Regions from separate parts of the Homo sapiens genome. Here region 1 is linked to region 2. The links are contacts of gene promoters, found by promoter capture Hi-C in human tissues and cell types (Jung and others, 2019). All regions are on one chromosome and are shown on one strand. Each heading gives the region's core, a stretch centred on a gene start or on the middle of the fragment in contact. The rest is flanking DNA. Distances are from core to core; before and after follow the strand shown. Region 1 overlaps MYO18B (myosin XVIIIB). Region 2 holds the start of KIAA1671.

The links. The method cuts DNA at HindIII sites, captures the fragments that hold promoters and counts their contacts. A contact is called where the count stands out against the background at its distance.
Region 1: a contact is called between a fragment that was not itself captured here and the fragment with the promoter of KIAA1671 in region 2, in 2 of the 25 tissues and cell types used here (lymphoblastoid cells and spleen).

Annotation. Positions count from the first base shown.
Region 1 is chr22:25,902,095-25,905,088 of GRCh38, forward strand. MYO18B (myosin XVIIIB) reads left to right here. Exons shown (of 44, transcript NM_032608.7): 30 at 519-642; 31 at 1,537-1,737. Among named protein-coding and RNA genes, the nearest start is that of MYO18B-AS1, 3.7 kb to the left of the region's middle. The HindIII fragment of the contact is 3,439 bases long and covers 1-2,994 here.
Region 2 is chr22:24,951,463-24,954,356 of GRCh38, forward strand. KIAA1671 reads left to right here and starts at 1,254. Exons shown (of 13, transcript NM_001145206.2): 1 at 1,254-1,310. RefSeq lists a silencer at 1,071-1,320. The HindIII fragment of the contact is 5,810 bases long and covers 1-2,894 here.

The DNA.
Region 1 (2,994 bases), core at 311-2,810, 950 kb after region 2:
CTCAAAGTGTTGGGATTACAGGCGTGAGCCACCATGCCTGGCCACCTTTAAAATATATCCTTTATTCTATATCTGTATATAGTTTTATTCTATTTTTATTCCTGTCCATATATTTTTATTAGATTTTAGGGTTAGCATTTAGATTAGCATTTTAGTAGGGAGATGATGGGGGCAGCAGAAGTCTCAGTCTAACAGTGGAAATTCAGGCAGAATGACTATGGTGAGGGAGAAATCTAGAATTATAAGTATATCGAATAGTTCTGTGGCAAGTCTACCTCAACCCTAAAAATTGCTCTGTGGTTTTTCAGATTCCCACCCTACATCCACAGCCTTACGTAAAAGCATTGAGAAAAACTTCCAACTTCTCATACTTTCTCTATCTCTCTTCTTCCTTTTGCTCTCTTTCTAATGGTTCTTGGGAAACTAGCGGCCTCTCTGCAGCCCCTCCCTGCCCCTGCCTCAATCACTCCCCTGCCCACCTGCCTACGGGGCCCTGACACGTGCTCTGCTTTGCACAGGTTTGACCTGCAGCTGGCCCAGGCCCTAGGTGAGTCAGTGTTTGAGAAGGGTCTCCGTGAGAAAGTGACCCAGGAGAACACCAGTGTCCGGTGGGAGCTAGGCCAGCTTCAGCAGCAGCTGAAGGTAAGGGATGGGGGACACAGAGCTATCTTGGCTCTTGGTGGCTAAATCTCGGGAAACTGCATCGTGCACCTGCTGCAAATGGTGACAGAGAGAAAACTTCACAAGGGTATCCTGGTCTGTCAAGCAGCTGAATCCCAGTGTGTCTTAATAAAATAGCAAATGGTGGCTGGTAAATTGATAATCAGACTTTGAGCAAGATTGATGTCTTGATCTTGCTTCAGTTACCTGCACAGGTTCCGAGGTGCTTACCTGGGAGGTATAACAGGCTCAGCAGAGAATGAGTTAGCTATAACCTTGTCCAGGAGCAATGTCCTGGTCCAAGCAGGCTCCAATGCAGAGAGATTTTACTAAAATACAACACGGGTGCCTCACTCAGCTGCTCCTCATCCTTTTGTGGTTCTCTACTACTCGCAGGAGAACCTCTGAGCGCTTTAGCCTGGCGTTCAACTCCTTCACGATCTGGCCCAAAGTTATTTGATCCTGGAGCTGACTTTGTAACCTGGAAGAGTCATTTCTGAGCACTTTGCCTCCCTGCTCCAACATCTCAATCCCAGCCTCAGACGGCACACAGGGAAGCTTTAGCTGTGTGCCTCCACTTCCCTTACAAATGGGGTCAACCCTTCCTGTAGGTGCTCTGAGATCGAACTCTAGGGACAATTTATTCCAATCCTACCTCCCACCCCCAACTCCATGCCTGTAGGAGCTATACCAAGAGCAGCCCTTGCTGGTGTCCCACAGGGGGCGCTGTGAGGGACGGTGGGGTCCAGGTGGAAATGGCAGGCATTGGAAAGTGGAAAACGCCACTCCAGCCCCAGTTGGTTGTAGAGGTATCCCTGGGGGAGGAGGGAGGCATACTCATGTGACTCCAGATCTCTGTCCTCTTTGTCTCTGTAGCAAAAGGAGCAGGAAGCCTCACAGCTGAAGCAGCAGGTGGAGATGCTACAGGACCATAAACGGGAGCTGCTGGGGTCACCCTCTCTGGGGGAAAATTGCGTTGCTGGCTTGAAGGAGAGGCTCTGGAAGTTGGAATCCAGCGCCCTTGAGCAACAGAAAATCCAGAGCCAGCAGGAAAACACCATCAAGCAGCTGGAGCAGGTAGGAAAGCCCTGTCTCAGGGCAACACCCTGTCCCATGTCTCCAATGCAGAGTGATGTTATTAAAATACAATGTGGGTGCCTCACTTGGCTGCTCCTCATCCTTCAATGGCTCCCTATTATCCCAGGGAACCTTTAAGCTCCTAAGTCTGACATTCAGATCCTTCCTGATCCAGCTCTCCCCTGCAAGGTTCAGTGTCACCTCCTCAGAGAAGCCTGCCTTAATCATCTTGCAAATAGCTCCCACTAGGTTGCATTCATTTCCCATCTCCTTAGCTGGGTTGCTTTACTCTCTGGTACCTGCCATCGTATTAGATAGTATTTTTTAAAAGTTTGCTTTATGCCTTTCTCTCTCATTAACATATAAGCTTCATGAAGTCAGATTGTTTTTCTCTTTCTCTTGCTTCTTAGTGCAATCCTAGAGCCTAGAATGAGGCCAGGTACATAGCTGATGCTCAATAAATAGCTGTTGACCAAATATCTAACATTCATTGAGTACTGTCTGTATACTAACCTCAGCCCTAAGCTCTCCCCACACATCTCACGAATCTCCACATGAACCTTATGTAGGGAGATCTTAGTATTATCCCCACTTTACGGATGTAGAAGTTGAGACTCAGAGACATGGAGAAAGTATCAGGGATGGGATTTGGAACCTGTGTCATCTGACCCCACACTGCCTCGAATGTCTGCTATGTGCTAGGCATTGTGCACAGCTTCGGGGCAGATTGAAGTGCTACTCTTTGGGGAAAATAAAATAACAAAGGGAATAAGACAAAAATATCAAATACTCTTGTACCAGTACCCTCTGCAAAGTACCAGATGAATACTTTATTTGTCTGCTTGCTTATTTATGTACTTACTTATTTACCTCATTCTATAAATAATTTGAGGCAGCTTACAAGATACATGTATAATAGAACACAAAAATTGTAAATAAAACAATCCAAACCACAAAAGTACAAAATAAAATAGACACTAAGGAGGAGGGTGGGGGCAGTGAATTAATAGGCAGATAAAGCATAACATATGGTCTTACACACATAATAATTTTAGCTCTAAAATTCCTGGTGGCCAGAAAGAAAAAGGAAATGTGAGTTACATGCCTGAGATAAAAAAAAAAAAAAAATTTCTAGGGGAAGTAAGACTTCTTCTGATGCTTGGCTCTAAACGAATTTCTCTTGTGGGATTTTGTAAAAGGCAATTATTTTAAAGTGTTTTTTTTAAAAAAAATGCTGAGGCCACCGTTATGCGAGAA
Region 2 (2,894 bases), core at 4-2,503:
CCAATCCTCCTGAAGCCACACAATGTGATGTCTTTTTCTTTTTTTTTTTTTTGAGATGGAGTCTTGCTCTGTCGTCCAGGCTGGAGTGCAGTGGCGCGCTCTTGGCTCACTGCAATCTCCACCTCCCGGGTTCAAGCCATTCTCCTGCCTTAGCCTCCCGAGTAGCTGGGATCACAGGCATCCGCCACCACGCCCAGCTAATTTTTGTAATTTTTAGTAGTGACGAGGTTTCACCACGTTGGCCAGGCTGGTCTCAAACTCATGACCTCAGGTGATCCACCCGCCTCGGCCTCCCAAAATGCTGGGATTACAAGCCACCGTGCGCAGCCTGTGATGTCCTTTTCTTTCTCTTTTTTTATTGAGGTCTATCTTGCTTATAATAAAGGCACATTGATTTTAGGTCCTCCAGTTATTCATGCTCTGTACATTTCCCATAGGAGCACATGTCACAGATTCAATTTGATATACTCGTGAAATTATTTGTTTGAATATCTGTAAGCTGCACAACAGCCTGGATTTTGCCAGCTGCCCACCACTGGGTTCTCCAGCACCCAGCATGCAATAGGTGCTTAATAAAGATCTGCTGAATGAAATGAGTAACGGATAACAGAACAGGTATTTTCTCTTTCAGAGGCGACTTCCTACGATTCTCTCAACTTGTCCACAAGTTCCTGTACCCATTACCCCACAACTCACACCCACAACATAATGGCAGGAGGATGCGCACACAGTAGGCGCTCCAGCGAACTCTCAGGTGCAGTGCCCTTGCTTGGCGCGAGGAGGCGCCAGCACCGCGCACAGACCTTGCCCGCCCCCGGGCCGGCACCAGCAGCCCAGGCAAGTCAGTGGGCCCACATTTATGGAGCGCCTCCTGAAATCCTGGGTTGCATTAGGCTCTCGGGGTCGCCGGCTGGGCAGCGGGTCGGTGCCGGTGGCGGGGGATCCTGGCTGGTGACTGGGGAACATCCAGGGAACGCGGGAGGGTACCCGGAGCAAAGTTCCCAATTGGACAGAGCGGGGTCGGGCCTCGAGGGGCGGGAGCGCTTCCGGCAGGGGTGTCCAAGCGAGTCGTGACCTCTGACCCGCCGGAGAGGTCCCAGGCCCAGGCGCCACTGCGGACTCGGGTCCTGCCTGCTCTGCTCCCCTCCGCGCAGGCGCGGCCGGCGGCAGTTCCCATGGTGACGGGGGCGCGTCCCCGCTCGAGGCCCCGCCCCCAGCAGGCTAGGCTGCGCGGGGCTGCGGGCTCCCAGGGCAGGTGCCGCGGGCTGCGGGCAGGTGGCGGCGCGGCGCGGGCTGGCGGTGGCTCCACGGTAGGTTGCGCAGCGGCTGCGGGCAGTGGGGGCCGGCTGGCCGCCTCCTGTCCCCGGCCGACGAGGTAGCTGGGGGTGACGGCGGCTGGCGAGGGCCGCCAAGTTTCTGCCCGGCCGAGGCCCCGGGAGAAAAGTTGGCAAAGTTGGCCGGGGAAGAGGCGGGGAGCCGGAGGATTTCCCCAGACTCCGGGTCTGCAGGGAGGGAGGATCCCGGTTTGGGAGCCGGGGAATCCGTCTCCCGAGACTTGAGAGTGGATCCCGCGGGAAGATCCCGCACAGGGCAACCAATGGATCACGTGCCACCTGGTTGGCGACTTGGGAGTCGATCCCTGGAGGGGATCGGGCGCTGGAGGCCTGGGGTCCCACTGGATCCCCAGTCAGGGGTGACGGCGAAGGGTGATTCGAGACTGGGAGCGAGAGGATCAATCTCCTCCCATGCCAGCCTGAGCCTTGGGAATGGATTCAGAGAGATCCCGTGGCTAGGAGCTGAGGGATCGCTGGAGATCTGGGTTACTCAGCCTGGAGCTGCTAGGGTCTGGACATTTGTGCGGGTTGGAGGCCCCGGAGGTGGAAGTGGGAAGCAAGGGCGGCGAGCGAGACGGAACCCTGGTCGAGGGGAGCCCGGAGGACAGCGCGGTGGTTCGGGGGGCGTGAGAGGGGCGGCGCGCGGGGCCCCTCGGACGCGGAGGCTCCGGACACGTCCTCTCGGCCTGGCCTGCGCCCCCCCTCCGCTCGTCTTCCCAGGGCGGAGGCGCCCTGATGGGATTAAGCCTCAGTCCCCCTGTTACCAGGCAGGCCCGCGTGGTCCCCGCCCCGATGGCGGCGCGGCCCACCCGGGCTCACGGGTGGGGCCCTCGGGATGGGAAGCGGCTCGTTGACCCCCACCCGAGCCTGACCTTTTCACACCCTGCTGGCACAAACTCGCCTGGGAGTGGGGACGCCGCGCCTTAAAACCCTGCTGTTTGTCCAGTCCCGGAGCAGGCGTGTGACCTCCACCGCGCGACGCCTAGGTGGCTAGGGCTTCCTGCCTGCCGGGACTGAACTTTCTCTAGCCAGGAGCAGCCATTATCTTTTGGAAGGGAAAGGACTGTACCTGTTGCACAAAGAAAAACACTTTCTTTGCACCTTTTTTGTGACCTTGGGCAAAACACTTAACCTATCTGAATCCAGATGGGGACCCTCTGGGCAAAATGGGCTTGGCCTAGGATGGATCGGAATGAAGGGTATGAAACAGGTAGGGGCTCTATAAGTATCAGTGCCTCCCTCAGTCTATGGCCTCTCCTTTCCCGTGCCCCATCCCCTGTGCTTGCCTTACAGTATCTAAAGATTCCAGAAACCCTACTTGCTATCTTTTGAAACCGCAGGATTAGAGAGCTATTTAGCTTAACCTTTCTTCCAAATGGGTTAATTGCCCCTCTGATCCCCCCTTGCAGAGAGAAGCTCTGAGGTTTGGCTAATGAGTAACCAAGACATTTGGACAAAGCTTCTCCCTTGGTCTGGCTTTCCCTCTGCTAATCCATCAAGGTTCCTGGACAAACGTGTGCACCCCCAGACTCTGGCGCCTCCTTCCTTCCTGTTGCAGCC